4 separate regions of the Homo sapiens genome follow, and regions 1, 2 and 4 are each linked to region 3. Evidence: promoter capture Hi-C in 16 types of primary human blood cells and fetal thymus (Javierre and others, 2016). All regions are on one chromosome and are shown on one strand. The core of a region is centred on a gene start or on the middle of the fragment in contact, and the rest is flanking DNA. Distances in the headings are between cores, read along the strand shown. Region 1 holds the start of SHH (sonic hedgehog signaling molecule). Region 2 overlaps RBM33 (RNA binding motif protein 33). Region 3 holds the start of NOM1 (nucleolar protein with MIF4G domain 1). Region 4 holds the start of RBM33 (RNA binding motif protein 33).

Region 1 (3,895 bases), core at 111-2,610, 1.1 Mb before region 3:
GGTGGGGGTAGTGGTGGGAAAGAAAACCACAGAGGCAACGGGAAACGTGGGGGCTCTGAGCTCCAATGCCCAAGGCTACGTTCGTTCGTTCGTACAGTACCAGGAGACCACTTCATGTTTGTGGGAGGGGGATTCCCAGCCTCTCCTTCCATTTCCACTCCTGACTTGGAAAGGGCCGACGCCCCCAAAGTGAAGGTCTCCCCAAGTTACAAGCCAGGGCAGAGGTAGGATGGGGAAGGCCATTGTAGCAAGACTCATCAAATCAGGGCCATAATGAACCACGTCTGTTACCGTCCTCACCCCCACCACACCCTAAACTTCTCCAGCTGGACCCTTGACCTCCATTCTCCTCCAGGAAGAGGAAGAGATGGGGGGCGGGCAGGTGGGTGGGGAAGGAGCGGGTGAAATCACCTTCCTATCTGCCCGAAGAGCAAACAGAGTTAAGTCTGGAAGTGTTCGGCTTCTCGTAACCCCCTGGAAAGCCACACATTCCACGCCCCGGCGCTGGGTTCCTACCTGAGTCATCAGCCTGTCCGCTCCGGTGTTTTCTTCATCCTTAAATATGATGTCGGGGTTGTAATTGGGGGTGAGTTCCTTAAATCGCTCGGAGTTTCTGGAGATCTTCCCTTCATACCTTCCGCTGGCGCCTAGGGTCTTCTCGGCCACATTGGGGATAAACTGCTTGTAGGCTAAAGGGGTCAGCTTTTTGGGGTGCCTCCTCTTCCCGAACCCCCTGCCCGGTCCGCACGCCAGTCCCGAGCATACCAGCAGCGAGGAGACGAGGACTAGCAGCAGACATCTCGCCAGCAGCAGCATCTCGCCCATGGAACTGATGACTTCCGAGCTGTCCCCGTGCGGGTCCGTGCGCGAGTGCGCGCGGCGGGTGTGTGCGTGTGCGCTCTCTCTTGCGCTTTCCCTTCCTCGCTCCGGCTCGCCCGCTCGCTCTCTCCCTCGCTGGCTGCCTCGCTCTTTCTCTTCCTATATAACCTTGCCCGCCGCGGCTGCGGGGGACTCTCCACCGCTCCCCACCCAGACAGGGGCTGGAATGGCAGGCTGCCGGCCGCTGATAACGGAACACATCGGAGTTGGGTCGCGAGACAGCAATCAAAAGACAAAAAGAGTCTGATTTTAAATGGTAGCAAGCCTGGAGAGCTTGTGAGAGAGGCTGCCTTTAGCACTATATTATAGCTGCCAGGGGCGCATCTGATTGGCCAAAGCCGCACAAGCTTGTCTTCTGATGTTAACCCTGAAGAAGACTACGTTTTTTTTTTCTGTTGCTGCTGTTGCTTTATTTTCACCTGAAGGATTCGAGTTAAAAAAAAAAAAATCTTTCCTAAGATAAAGGTGGGCGGGAGGGAGGAGCGCATGTCTTGTGGTAACAGCAGTTACTCCCGGCTTTGTGTACATCCTTGCGTTTCCCCCTGACTTTCCCTGGAATGGTAGGTGCTTCAGTTAAAACCAACTTAAGTTTTTAAAGGACAGTTTAAACCCCCGCAAGCTTCAGTCATCAAGCACAGAGTCGCTCACACATTTGAGGGGCACAGCTGCCCAGCTGTTATTTAATTTTTCTTCCCCAGGGACTTTATAGTGCAGGCTGGCTCTCCCTGCATTTTGAAGAAAGAGGACTGAGCCCCTCCTGAAGACTCAGCCTCTGTGGACCGAGGATAATTATGAGTGACCATAACTTAAAGCACTGGTATTTGAAATGCTTTAAGTGCCTTAGAAAAATGTAAAAATACTGCTCTTTTATTGTGCTTCAATTAATACATTTTTTTTTTTGTAGAGCTCTGCAAATGGGATGGAGGCGTGCTCAAGGGCAGTTACAGAGTGAACTGCGGGCGTCAGGGTGGATGGGCAAAGCAGGTCTGGGGGCTGCACCCCAGCACAGGGGAGAGAGTGGGGGCCAGTGTGTGCGCTGGGTGTGTGGAGGCCATTGCAGGGTGTTGGGGGGGGGGCAGGCGAGTGGGCGAAGCTGTGCTCACACAACCCCCACGATCGATCAGAGCAAAGTGCAGAGCCAGGGGTGAGCTGAATGTGGAATTCAGGCTCCTTGCAAAGCTGGCCTTGTGTGGGGGCTCAGCAGGCCAGCAGTCTTCAGGCACAGGAGCCACCAGTCCTAGGGGCTGCAGCCCAAGGGGTCAGGGGCCCTGGGGGAACAGTGTTCTGGTTAACGAGGGGCTTCCTAGAAAGAGGGCACAGTGCCCAGGAGGTGGCAATCTTTGAGTCTATAATCACCTCACTTTTTGCAGAAAAAGGAAAAAAACTCAAAAGTCCTAAGTAAACCAGGAAAATAAAATTTGAAGCTCCCTCTCAACCCTGCTTTTCTTTTTTTTTTTAAAAAAAAAAAAACAGATCATGCCCTTCCCCTTCTCAATCGCCATCCCACTCATGTGCAATGATTCCTCTAGCATAGGATTAGAGAGTGAGGGTTATTTACGTGGAGGGGAAATCCTGACCCTGAGGAGTCATCAGATGCTGCAAATGTGGCCCTGTGAAGTTAAACACTCTCCCTTGACCCCGGGCCCTTGGAGTGGAGGGGGAGAGGACCCCTGTGAAGCTCAGCCCTCAAACGATGGAAGTTTCCAGAAGTTCCCTTTGCAGATCAACTTTTTGTGTGTGTGGTGGGGGAGAGAAGGAGAGGAGCATCTTAGGACACATCTGTCTTGGGCATGAGAGGCTGAGCGTTAACAAGACTCGGTGGCCTGGGTGCCTTTGGGGAGGTTGACCCGGGCTCCCCTTCCCGCCTCTCTTTCTTGTTCCTTTCCATGGTTTGTGACGAATCGTGATCCCTGGAGGAGAGCACCGTGGGGGAGCAGCGTCCACTTGACCAGGCCCCGGCAGCCTCCACTGAGCGGAGCTGGAGCTCAGCTGAGCCCAGGGATTCTCCAGGCGGTGTGTCTGCGCTGCCTGTCCCGTTCCCAGTAAAAACAGACACAAAACAGGACCCGTGTTCTCTCCAGAGGAGGCCGGCCTGTTTGATGTGTCTACCTGCACAGCATGTGGATGTCACATCACTGGGTGGTGCCTGGGCTGGACCAGCGACCTGGCCCAGTGGGACATTTGCAAACTTTTGACTGCCCTGCCTTCCACCCTTGGCATCTCCTCTTGCCCCAGTCCCTCCTCCTCCCCCTGTCTTTCCCCGCTACTTACTCCCTTCCAAATGCAGGCAGAAGGCCCCCCACACGGGTTGCCACCCTGGGGCCTGAGAGATTGGGTGTGCAGCCCTGCCGGGAGGTGGCATGTGCACACAGCTCACCTCTGCAAGGGGCAGGGTGGGTGGGGTGTGCTTTTGGAAGCAAAAGCCTGAGCTGCACAGAGTTCCTTGTGGGCACAGCTGGACGTGGGGTGCCCCCAGGTGCGGTCAGCTCCCTCTTAGCAGAGCGCAGGGAGAAGACGTGGCTTGGCATTGAGCTTGGGTGACTCAGGGCATTTCCTGAAACCTCCCTGCCCTAAGGGATGGCGTGAGGCCCCCTCCCTCCCCTCCATCTCCAGACAGCCCTAGACACCCTGGAGAGCACCTCAGGGGCCGCCCCCCTTGTAGACTGGCCGATCCTCCAGAGTGAAATAATGATGGGCCAGAAAGCCTGCCCCCACGCCTAAGTTCAGAGGGCCTGCCCCCTGCATGGGTTGAGGGGAGCTCGGCGCAGAAAGCAATCCCAGTTATAGACCAGGCTGCTGACTGAGCCCCCCAGAGAAGCTGCTGCTCTGCCCTCCCGCCCTTCACTCCCTGTCCTTCCATCCCACCTGCTCCCCACGGCCCAGCACTGCCTTCCCCTCCAGAGGCCAGGTGGCTCTATCTCTTTGCCTTCCCCCCCCCCCCCAGACCATTTGGCCCCCTCCCCGCACCAGCAGAGGCTCCAAACACCAGCCTCCCTGACAAGGCCAGACATCCGGA
Region 2 (3,887 bases), core at 1,115-3,614, 1.2 Mb before region 3:
AGTGCCTTGAAAATTTCCATTATAAAGTTTTATGATATCATTTGTTGCTATATAACAGGGTCCCCAACCTTACTGGCACCAGGGACTGGTTTCTTGGAAGACAGTTTTTCCGTGGACTGGGGTTGGCGGTGGGGAATGGTTTCAGGATGAAATTGTTGCACCTCAGATCATCAGACATTAGAGTCTTATAAGGAGCTGGCAACCTAGATCCCTCGCGTGGGCAGTTCACAGTAGGATTCATGCTCCCGTGAGAATGCCGCTGCTGATCCGACAGGAGGCGGAGCTTAGGCAGTAATGCTTGCCTGCCTGCTGCTCACCTCCTGCGGTGCATGCAGCTCAGTTCCTAACAGGCCACAGACTGGTAGTGAGGGTTGGGGACCCCTGCTGTATAAGGTACAAAAACTTGTCTTGGATATAAGCAGCTCCAGAGCTTACCCAGGCAGGGCTTCTTTCTGCTGAGCAGGTTTGTAGGAAGAGTCTTTCCTTGAAAGTTGGGTAGTCGGCATCACAAGACTCTGAAGCACCCCACTTTCTGTGTCTTCTGGTGTCTGCCTGCCCTGAGGACACTGTGGTGCACATGCCTCCAGGAAGCAAGAGACCACCGAGAGCCAGACCCACTGGGAAGAAAAACCAAGTAGCTGCATCCCAACCTGCCACTGGGACCGAAGAGTCTGTCAGTCTGGGCCCAAGAGCTTCCCAAGCAGGGAGGGGTGCAGCGGCAGGCCCAGGAAGGCCCACCCGGCCCCACGGAATGAGCAGAGGTGGCACTAGGAGGTGAGGTCTCTGTCTGCAGGGACTGTCTCATCACAGGCCTTATTCCTGTCTTTTCAGGCCATTTCTTAGAAAGTCGTCAACGAGGTATGACACCATCACATCAGGACCCTTTCTTTATGTTACAAGATCTGCATAAGGAAATTTTAGTTTTTTTGAAACAGATGAGGAAGAGAAAGGCTTTTTGTAATACCTGTATTTCTGAACTTTAAATAGAGATCAAGCCTACTTAAAAAATAAACTTTCCTTCAATGGAAAATAAAAGTTTAGAAATTTATTTTTCAGAGTTCTTATCTGACGTTAATGTCACCAGACATAAATTTTCACCAGTCTCTTACCCAAAATAATGATGAAGAGAACTTTTTCTTATTCGGGGTATTTATTGACTCAATGTTTATGTTCTTTTTTTTTTTTTTTTTTTTGAGATGGAGTCTCGCTCTGTCTCCCAGGCTGGAGTGCAGTGGTGCGATCTCGGCTCACTGCAAGCTCCGCCTCCCGGGTTCACGCCATTCTCCTGCCTCAGCCTCCTGAGTAGCTGGGACTACAGGCGCCCGCCACCGCGCCCGGCTAATTTTTTTTGTATTTTTAGTAGAGACGGGGTTTCACCGTGTTAGCCAGGATGGTCTCGATCTCCTGACCTCGTGATCCACCCGCCTCGGCCTCCCAAAGCACAGTTTAAAAATTATCAAATTACTACAGTGTTATGTGTTTATCACCCAAGTACACATACACATTGTATACCTTACAACATGCAAATAATAACATCCTCCTTTTGGTGCCACCTATTGTTGTTAAAGTTTCCTCTCTAGACCATCTTGTTTCAAGCTTTGGATTGCCAGGGAAACCGGCCAGAGCATTCGTCTTGCTGTCCGTCATGTTCTGTGAACATCGTTCCCTCCAGGCCAAAGGTACTGTCGCCTCTCTTTCTGCCACGTGACACTTCATGTTGCTGGGCTGAAAGTTGGCCTTTTATTATCTTAGTGGTGTAGTAAATAGGTGTGTACTGATTGACAGTGGCTGTAACCTAGTATTCTGATGCTATAATCTCTCTTAGCACATTCAGAACTACTTAACTTTAAAAAGTACAGGCAACTATTTACTGATCTATTCACTAAATATTTCAGTGCCTTCTGTGTGCATGAGACATTTTGGTAAGCTGAACAAGAGATTCACTGGGGTCTAAACCACTGGCTTCTCTCAAGCACTTACAAGACAGCAAATGTTGTGGTCGGCATCCTTGGAGACCTAGTTGGTTAAGCTACCAGGGAGCTGATTTAGATTGCTTAAGTTCATACGATGGAAGTCCTTCTTAGAGAGCAAACCTTCCACAGTCCATGCATTTGCCCACGTTAGTGGAAAGGGTAGAAGTTGGAGAATCACAGTCAGTAAGACTGTTGGGTTGCTGAGTTGTGTGGAGAACTGAGTGGTCTGATGTCCCCTCCACCTAACATGGGCCCTCATGGGACCTGGAGGTTGGTGTGAAGTGTTCGCGCTTGTAAAGAGGAGGAATGTTTTCAGTGGCAGTACAGCTGAACACGTGCATAGTGAATTTATGAATCTCATACTAAGATTGTACTGTCAGGCAACAACATTGCAATAGGATTTTGGATAAATTAATGGTCACTGGTTCTCATGAAAGATGAGGGTATGTGGTATATATTTTTAAATTTTAAAACTTTTTAGTATAGAAAATTTCAAGCATGTATAAAACTAGAGAGAATTCACATAGTTTTTTAAGATACAGACTGAAAAATTGTGTACTCAGTATAGGCCCTCCCTGCCTGGTGGGATACCTACTCACACCTTGGGTAGAAGACCTTGTGGAGAAGATTTAAGAGGCACAAACTACCAGCCTGACTTTGGATTTTGCGAGCGGTCTGCCTTTTCACAGTGCTTCCATTTTCATGTGGGGGTTGGGGGTAGCCCCTGTAAGACAGGAGCGACTCCCAGTAAGATCGCACGTTTCAGGCGATGATAATTCAAATGGTAGAGTCATAGAGCGTTAGGTGGGAGAACCCATCTGGCTCAGTCACCCGCAGCCCTGGCTGGACGATAGCAGATATACACACGGTCCTTTCCTTTGTGTAGTGTGTTCCCTTGGTTAACCGGGGGGGTGTTAAACCAGCCCTGCGCTTCTGGGATGAATCTTACCTGGTCATGAGGTGTGATCCCTTTTCCGTGTTGCTAGATTTAGTCTGCTAATATTCTGTTGGGGATTTTTTTTCATGTATGTTTATGAGGAATATTCTTTTGCAGTTGTCTTCTCTTTTGATGCCTTTGGCCTTGTATTAGGGTAATACCAGGCCCAAAGAATGAGTGGGGAAGTGCTTCTGCCTTTTCTGTTTTCTGAAAGAGATTGCGTAAGCTTGGTAGTCTTTCTTCCTTAAATATTTGGTAAAACTTACTGGTGAAGCTATTTGGGTCTTTGTTTTTCTTTGTGAATGGTTTTTAATTCATTGTCTTTACTTCTTAGAGTTCTATTCGTATTTTCTCTTTCGGTCAGTTTTGGTACTTGTGTCTCGTTGAATTTGCTCATTTCATGTAAATTGTCTAGTGTGTTGATGTAAAGTTGCTTGTAATGTTTTTTAAATTTCTTAGGGTCCATTGCGGTGATCCCTCTTTGTTTCCTTATTTTGGTAATTCATCTTCTTTCCTTTTTTCTTGGTCAGTATCCTTAAAGGAGCATCAATTTTTTGCTGATCTCAAAATACCAACTTTTGGTTTCACAGATTGTCTTTTTTCTGTTTACCATGCCGTTGCTTTTCGCTGTCATCTTTATCATTTTCCTTCCTTCTACTTGGGTTTGATTTCCTTTTTTGAGGACGGGGGACTAGCTTCTTGAGGTAGAAACTCAAATGACTGATTTTAGATGTTTTTCCTTTTTGATGTCATTGCTTAAGTTGCAGCCCCTGAATTTTGATGTGTTGTATTTTTGTTTCCATTCAGTTTAAATATTTTTTGTTCAGTGTTTGTATTATTTTTATTTCTCAGCCTAGCTTCCTAGGGGTTGACCCGACTGCTGCGTAGCTTAGTGGCCAGCCAGCGCCTGGGATGAGCTTGTGCTCAGGTCTCTGGACCCTGCATGGCCCCCCATGGCCAGTTATCTGTGTGTGGGT
Region 3 (3,766 bases), core at 980-3,479:
AGGGTTGTCAGGATGGACTCGCTGAGACTTTTGAGCAAAGGCTGGGATCAGAAAGGACCAGGAGCCTGTGCCTGCGCTGGAGCGGGGGGAAGCGGCGGGAAGCGGCGGGAGAGAGGGGAGACAGGGTCAGGAGATGAGGTGAGGGCAGATCCAGCAGGACCTCCAGCGTTCCTGGAGAGTGAGCTGGCACGCAGCCACGTGGTCCTATTTTCATATTTTAAAAGCATGCCTTTGGCTGCTATGTGGAGAGCAGACTGAAGGGTTGAGGGGATGAAAGTGGAGAGACCAGACAGAGGCCTTTGCAATAATCCAGGCAGCTATGATGGTGGCAGGGAAGGTCCATTGGTCCCTCCCTCTGCTGCAGGATGGTCTACAAGATACATTGTTAAATGAAAAAAGCAAGATGTGGAACAGTGTTTTGTAAACTAGCACTCATGAGACACAGCACACACACCTATTTATGCTTCATTGAGTATAGAATCTATTGGGAAGATCACTTCAGAATGATATATTGCTGCTTCATGGAAGGAGAACTGGGTGGCTTGTGGACAGGCACAGCACAGAAATTGACCTTTTCATTTATATCTTTTTGTACCTTTTGAATTTTGGACCCTGTACATAGAGTATATTGCTTATTAAAAATTAAATTACTTATTTTTTTAAAGTACCTTAAATATTTGAGAGAGGAAAATATTTGCACATAGGAGATACAGAGGATTATTCAAAATTTTTTATTTGTAAAGAATTCCTTGCCGGGTGTGGTGGCTCACACCTGTAATCCCAATACTTTAGGATTTGAGCTTAGGAGTTTGAGACCTGCCTGGACAACACAGGGAGACCCTGTCTCTACTTTAAATTTATATTAAATAAATTTTATATTTAAAAAAATTCGTAAAACCTATAAGGAAAATGGACAAAGGCCATAAACAGAGGAGGAAATACAAATGGCCAGTGAACAAAGACACCCACTCTCATCAGGAACTAAATGACAAGATGCCATTTTGAGCTGACAAGTTGACAAAAATTAAATCATTTTAAAGTCAAGGACGGGCCGGGCGCGGTGGCTTGCCTGTAATCCCAGCACTTTGGTCCGCCATTGCACTCCGGCCTGGGCAACAGAGTGAGACTCGGTCTCAAGAAAAAAAAAAGAAAAAAAATTAAATTAAATTAAATTAAGTCAAGGGTGGGAACTCTGTGGAAATGAAGCTTCTGAAGCTGTCCGGGAAGAGAAGCGGCCCCTGGTCAGGCCGAGAACCCCACAGCAGCAGCCCCGTCTTCCCCCAGCTCACTGCTAGGCGAGGCTGCTCCTGCGCCTCCGGGCTTCCCAAAAATCCAGACGCAAACTGCGCGGCCTCTGCGTTCGCTTCCCGGTTCAAGTTACCCAGTAAAGAGGAACCTCAAACGCTCTGCCCTCGGGGCCCAGCGTCCAAACCCAGCCTGGGCAGGGCCGGCTCCTCAGGGGTCCTCGGCCGCCTGGGGGCCACAGGCGTCTCCCTGGTCCGTATCCAGAGCCTGCTTCTCAGGAGAACGCTGGCTCTGGGGCCAGTCCTAACCCACGAGGGCTCCTCTCGACCACATCTGCAAAGGCCCTATTTCCAAATAAGGTCGCATTCCTGGGTCCTGGGCGGACACGAACCTGGGGCCCGCGCATCCCAGCGTCGTCGCCGCCGCCAACCTCCGGCACCGCGCCGACCCGCGCGGAGTCTCCCCTCCATCATACGCGAGGATTTCCCTTTGGAGTCTCGCTCTGTCGCCCAGGCTGGAGTGCAATGGCGCCATTTCGGCTCACTGCAACCTCCGCCTCCGTGGTTCAAGCGATTCTCCTGCCTCAGCCTCCGAGTAGCTGGGATTACAGGCGCGTGCCCCCACGCTCAGCTAATTTTTGTAGGGGGGTGGGTGGGTTTCACCAGGTTGGCCAGGCTGGTCTCGAACTCCTGACTTCAGGTGATCCACCCGTCTCGGCCTCCCAAAGTGCTGGGATTACAGGCGTGAGCCACCGCGCCCGGCCGGATTTCCCTTTTAAATGTGAAGGCACCTCCATGCTCATCGCGAGCCTGACGTCCACGCGGCGCCCACCCGCGGGCGCGCCTGCCCCGGGCGCCACCTGCCCGGCTGCCCCCGCACCCGGCTCCGCGCAGCTCTGCACGCTGTCGCCCTCCGGCCAGCAGGGGGCGCCGCCCGCCCGCCCCGCGCAGCCGCCTCTTCCCCGGAAGTCCCGCCTCGGCCGGAAGTCGTGCGTCCACGCGTTTCGAAAGATGGCGGCGTCCAGGAGCGCGGGAGAGGCCGGCCCGGGCGGCTCCCAGGGACGCGTGGTCCGCATGAAGCGCAGAGGCGGGCGCGGGCCGCGCCGCGGTCCTGCTGGCGGTGGGGAGAAGGCCCTGAAGAGGCTGAAGCTAGCGGTGGAGGAGTTCGTGCACGCGACTTCGGAAGGCGAGGCTCCCGGGGGTTGCGAGGGGCGCGGCGCCCCGGTGAGCTTTCGCCCGGGAGGGAGAAAAAGCCGTAAGGAACTGAGGAAGGAGAAGCGGCACCTGCGGAAAGCACGCCGGCTGCAGAGGACGGCGGGCCCCGAACAGGGTCCCGGCCTGGGAGGCCGAAGCGGAGCCGAAGAAGCCAGCGGTCACCGGCAGGACACGGAGGAGCGCGCCCGCCCAGCCCCTAGTCGGGACCCCTCGCCTCCCAGGAAGCCGCGGCCGTCCCGGGTCAAGGCCAAGGCCACGGCCGCCACCGCAAAGACCAGACCCTCCGCAGCCGCCACCGCCGCTGCCCGGAAACGGGCGCTTTTAGCGGCGAACGAGGAGGAGGACCGAGAGATCCGAAAGCTGGAGCGTTGCCTCGGTTTGAACAAGCGCAAAAAGAAGGACGGCAGCAGCTCCGTGCCGCTGAGCTTTGCACGCGACGGTCTTGACTATATTCTGGGAGCCCTGGAGTCTGGGAAAAATAGCGGCTTGTACGACAGCAGTGGTGAGGAGGAGGAAGATGCCGGACAGACACTCCCCGAAAGTGACTTAGAGAGTGACTCCCAGGACGAAAGTGAGGAGGAGGAGGAGGGAGACGTAGAAAAGGAAAAGAAGGCGCAGGAAGCAGAAGCGCAGAGCGAGGACGACGACGAGGATACAGAAGAGGAACAGGGGGAAGAAAAGGAAAAGGGAGCGCAGGAGAAAAGGAGGGGGAAGAGAGTCCGTTTTGCAGAAGATGAAGAAAAGAGTGAAAATTCCTCGGAGGACGGTGACATAACGGATAAGGTATCGTGTGAACACTCTCTAGGCCCTCTGGGATTTCCTTCAAAATAACGGGACAGGGAATGGGGCGTGAGGCAGAAATGACACAGACTTGGTGTCTTGATAATGGTTTCAGCTGAATGTGAGTAAATCGAGTACGTTACTCTATTCGGTCTTCTTTCATGTTTTTAAATTTTCATAATGTAAAGTTTAGGAGAAAAGCAATATAGAGACATTTTTATCCCGGGGACTTAAGGGCCATTTCCACAGTGCAGCATCTTCATTCTGTGTTTACCAGCCCAGGTCTCTAAACCTGTTAACCCTACCTCATCTGTTAAGGCCTCTTTCGAGTATCCGAGGACATCTGCCGTGCCCGACTTTTAGAGTGAATTTTCTAAAACTCGAAGCTAATTTACAGCACTCCCTTAGATAAAGTCCAACATTGAATTAAAGATAAAGGCTGAGGCGGGGCAGATCATTTGAGGTCAGGTGTTTGAGACCAGCCTGGCTAACGTGGTGAAACCCCGTCATTACTAAAAATACAAAAA
Region 4 (3,926 bases), core at 1,415-3,914, 1.3 Mb before region 3:
TCACTAGGTAGTCTTCTTAGGTTTAACCCCTGACACTCATATAATGCCACGCCTGGCAGCAGCTCCACTTTGGAGGACTGAGGAGAAGAAACACACTTCACTGCGGTACAGGCATGGAAGAGCTCTACTCTTTGGCCCAAATGCAATTCAGGAGCAAACCATTATGGGTGGGGGCTTGGCTTGGAAGTCCTTGACCGGCGGGAAACCAGTTCCCTGAGTTTGTCTTTTAGATTCCCACATTCAGTTAAGACAGTAACAGAGGCTAAAGGTATGGCTTCCCACTAGGTGTTTTAAGATTATTCAGTACTTTCAAGCCAGAGGCAGTCTACATGTCAGAGGTCATTTTTACCATGAGCAATGTTTTATTTATTTATTTGGAGATGGAGTTTCACTCTTGTCACCTAGGCTGGAGTGTAGTGGTGTGATCTCGGCTCACTGCAACCTCCACCTCCTGAGTTCAAGTGATTCTTGTGCCTCAGCCTCCCAGGTAGCTGGGATTACATGCATGTGCCACCACACCCAGCTAATTTTTGTATTTTTAGTAGGGATGGGGTTTTGCCATGTGGGCCAGGCTGGTCTTGAACTCCTGACCTCAGGTGATCCACCTGTCTTGGCCTCCCAAAGTGTTGGGATTACAGGCGTGAGCCACCGCGCCTGGCCTACAACCAATGTTGTTTTATACCACAATGAACACTCTGCCTTCATAAGGTTTCTATGACAAGTTAAAGTTAACACAAAGTGAAGTTTGTTCATAGATAAGGACAAGGGGTTGGTTAAATCTTTACTCACAGTAATTTACCAAGAACTTCAAATACTGGGTGTCCACGCTAAAAAATTTTTCCAGTGGGTGTTTGATCAAAAAATTTTATAGACTCTTGTTCTAGAGAAATTCAGTTTCAAGTGGCTTATGAGATTGTTTCATCTGTTAATTTGGTTTTTTGTGGAATTCTTCTGAAGATCACCACTGAATTATCCTGAAAAATATTTTCTGAGTTAGGCATGCCATCCTCCACAGTTCAAAAAATAATGAAAGGTGATAAAGAGTTCAAGCCATTTAAATATGGATGTATTAACGTGCTTTTTAATAGAGACCATTTTTCAATGAGTTGCTTGCAAAACATTTTTTTTGGGGAGTGAGTTCTCACAGTTGAATAATTTTTTTGTTTTTTTTTGAGACAGAATCTCGCTCTGTCACCCAGGCTGGATTGCCGTGGCGCAATCTCGGCTCACTGCAACCTCCGCCTCCTCGATTCAAGCAATTCTCCTGCCTCAGCCTCCTGAGTAGCTGGGATTACAGGCGCGTGCCACCACGCCCAACTAATTTTTGTATTTTTAGTAGAGACGGGGTTTCACCATGTTGGTCAGGCTGGTCTCAAACTCCTGACCTCGTGATCCACCCACCTCAGCCTCCCAAAGTGGTGGGATTACAGGCGTGAGCCACCGCGCCCGGCCAGCATTTTATTATACGTACCGTTTTATCATCTCTTCACCCATCCACCAATGCATCTCCTGTATGGACGTCTTGATTGTTAACTCACGGCACTGGACCTCCAGTTTCATGCCTCTCCACATTGCAGGGTCCTCTACGTTGTTGTATCAGTCACCTTTCTAAAATACAAATCTTACCATGTAAATTGTTTCTAAAATCTTTCAATAGACCCCATAGACTCAGAAAAACGTCCCAAAGTCCGGAATCCTGGCCCCTGCCTACCTTTCCAGTTTCATTGCTGGGTCAGAACGCCTCACCTAAGCCCCACATTGACCGATATGGAATCAATGTTTACAGCCGGTGTGTACTTAATCAACCCCCTTCCCCGACTGCGACCACTCAGATGCGCCTTCCCGGGCCCCACACCCCAAAACCCCTGAGCCCTTTCGTCCACAGCTGTCTGACCACCCAGCACCCTTTCCTTTATGTCAAGTATGAGGATTTCGTTTCTTAACCTTTCTCACTGCTCAAAATGCAAACTCAGACATGAGTGCCGGGCGCTATCCGTCCTGCTCACGTCTTGTTCTCAGGGCCGCAAGGCGCAGGGGCAGTAAGGGCCGAGAGCCCATCAGGGTCCGGCGCTGCCCGCTGCCCAGCCGGGCGCGGAGAAGGGGACGGGGGTCCGGGGTCGCGGGTCCGGAGGGTCTCGGGTTGTAGGAAGTGAGGGCTCGCGGGCGCCGCACGAGTGCGCGTGCACGTTAGCCCGGCGCGCGCGGCACTCATCTCACCTCGCGGAAGCACCTGCCGGAGCTGTGTGCACCCTTTCCTGCCCTCAACACAAGCCGTCGGCGTTCACTACTGTAGCTCATTCAGACCCCACTCTCCAACCTACTGTCCAGGCACAGAAACGACAGTTAAGGTTCCCCCGGACCGTACGCTGGACCTTGCCTCCCCGGCTCCTAACGGGAGACGGGCTGCCGTAAAGCTTCGCTTTGCCGACTGCTGCAAAGCGCCTTACGACTGAACCCGGAATCGACCTATGGCCAGCAGTCGTCCCCGCCCTGCTTCAAACATTTGGGTTTCAGGAGCCGGGCGGAGGTGACTGCCGCGTGTTTGCGTTGCACGCCCACCGCCCGAAACACGGCGGCGGCCTCAGGGCTGCTGCGGCCTCGGCGGGGGCAGGCCCCGGCGCCCGCCCGCCTCCCGGCCTCCATCATCCCAGGGTGCACCGCGGCGGGCGCGGGCGCGCGGCCATGTTGCGGTAGTTTGTTGTTTTCTTCCTGCGGAGGCGAAGGGCCAGCTGTGGACCGCGAAGCGCCCGGCTTCGCCTCTGCCTCCTGCAGCCCCCTCCCTTCTCTGTCCTCCGTCACCCGTACCCGGGCCCGGACCAGGCACGTCGGCCCACCAGCTGGCTTGGTGGGGGAGGCTGAAGGCCGGGCCCCGCGAGTGCCATGGCGGCCGCCCTGGGAGCGAGCGGAGGAGCAGGCGCCGGAGGTACGTGAGGCAGCCGGACTCTGGGGGCCAGGACCGCGCCGCGGTGGGCGGGGGTGTAGGCCGGGGGGCCTCCCCGCTTAGGAGAGGACGAGGCTCTCCCCGGCTCCGACTCTCTTTGTGTTCGGCCTATTCCGTTTTCTCCCTCGCCTTCCCTCGCTATTGTCATTCTCCCTTTCTCGCTCCTCCTCTCCGCTGTGCAGATCGTACTTACCTGTGAACTTCTGTGTGTCCTCTACTTTGCAAGGCTGCCTAAGTGTCAGGCCCATCTCTGGCGTTGGCGGGCATTAAGTGCCGAAGCCGGCCTGGTGTCCTATGGGTAGGAGAGCGCCCCCCCCACCCCCCGAGACAGTGTCACTTAGGGAGAGCGGGGCAGGTCGCTGTAGGGTGGGTGTTTAAGATTGTGGGGCCATCCTGACAGATTTAGATTGATTTGAAGCCCATTACAAAAACATAACGAAAAGATTCACCTGTGTGAAGGAATGTGCGACAGTAGGCCAGTTTGGAAAGTGAGATTTCTTGAGAAAGTCTCAATAAATCCCTGTTTTAAATTAACTTATTTGTTGTCTAATAACCTGTTAGTGTTTTATGTGCGTCTTCCAAAAGTGAAAACGTGACACAAAAGGTTTAGATACTGAGTCAGTTCCTTTGGATAGTTTTTCTTGTTTGCAAGCATAAACAGTATTGATGAAACACCTATCTCTAAAAAATTGTAGGTAAATTACTTTCAGGTAAAATTACATATCACTGGGGGTTTTAAAAACGTGGAGAGATACTTGAAAGTGACTTTTTAAGTGATTATTTTGAAAACTTTGAAAAGATGGTAAAATATGGATAACAAAAGCATTTGGGATTAGTTCTTACCATTGAAACGTTGAAAAGCCAGTCTAGTGTATACTCGAGAAGTATTTTTTAGTAAATGCTAGCAGATGGTTACGTTGTTATCATCCTGTTTAGGAATTTTGGCCCAACTGTCAAAACGTTTGCCTGACAAAATGGAAAAACA

What was found. The method cuts DNA at HindIII sites, captures the fragments that hold promoters and counts their contacts. A CHiCAGO score of 5 or more calls a contact.
Region 1: a fragment that was not itself captured here is called in contact with the fragment with the promoter of NOM1 in region 3 in 2 of 17 cell types (M2 macrophages and M0 macrophages); the score reaches 6.0 in M2 macrophages.
Region 2: a fragment that was not itself captured here is called in contact with the fragment with the promoter of NOM1 in region 3 in 1 of 17 cell types (M0 macrophages); the score reaches 5.2 in M0 macrophages.
Region 4: a contact is called between the fragment with the promoter of RBM33 here and the fragment with the promoter of NOM1 in region 3, in 3 of 17 cell types (total B cells, non-activated CD4 T cells and naive B cells). The highest score is 10.3, in total B cells.

Annotation. Positions count from the first base shown.
Region 1 is chr7:155,811,307-155,815,201 of GRCh38, forward strand. It overlaps SHH (sonic hedgehog signaling molecule), which reads right to left and starts at 1,157. Exons shown (of 3, transcript NM_000193.4): 1 at 517-1,157. The coding sequence starts at 816. RefSeq lists an enhancer at 3,457-3,895. The HindIII fragment of the contact is 272 bases long and covers 1,225-1,496 here.
Region 2 is chr7:155,758,243-155,762,129 of GRCh38, forward strand. The region is part of intron 14 of RBM33 (RNA binding motif protein 33); the gene reads left to right. Among named protein-coding and RNA genes, the nearest start is that of SHH, 52 kb to the right of the region's middle. RefSeq lists an enhancer at 173-467. The HindIII fragment of the contact is 1,540 bases long and covers 1,595-3,134 here.
Region 3 is chr7:156,947,483-156,951,248 of GRCh38, forward strand. NOM1 (nucleolar protein with MIF4G domain 1) reads left to right here and starts at 2,230. Exons shown (of 11, transcript NM_138400.2): 1 at 2,230-3,242. The coding sequence starts at 2,256. RefSeq lists an enhancer at 1,382-1,910 and silencers at 1,971-2,320, 2,601-2,650. The HindIII fragment of the contact is 6,978 bases long and covers 1,205-3,766 here.
Region 4 is chr7:155,641,997-155,645,922 of GRCh38, forward strand. It overlaps RBM33 (RNA binding motif protein 33), which reads left to right and starts at 2,665. Exons shown (of 18, transcript NM_053043.3): 1 at 2,665-2,923. The coding sequence starts at 2,881. It overlaps RBM33-DT (RBM33 divergent transcript), which reads right to left and starts at 2,410. Exons shown (of 3, transcript NR_126344.1): 1 at 2,218-2,410; 2 at 1,472-1,608; 3 at 1-974. RefSeq lists an enhancer at 1,604-2,558 and a silencer at 2,483-2,992. The HindIII fragment of the contact is 4,649 bases long and covers 2,413-3,926 here.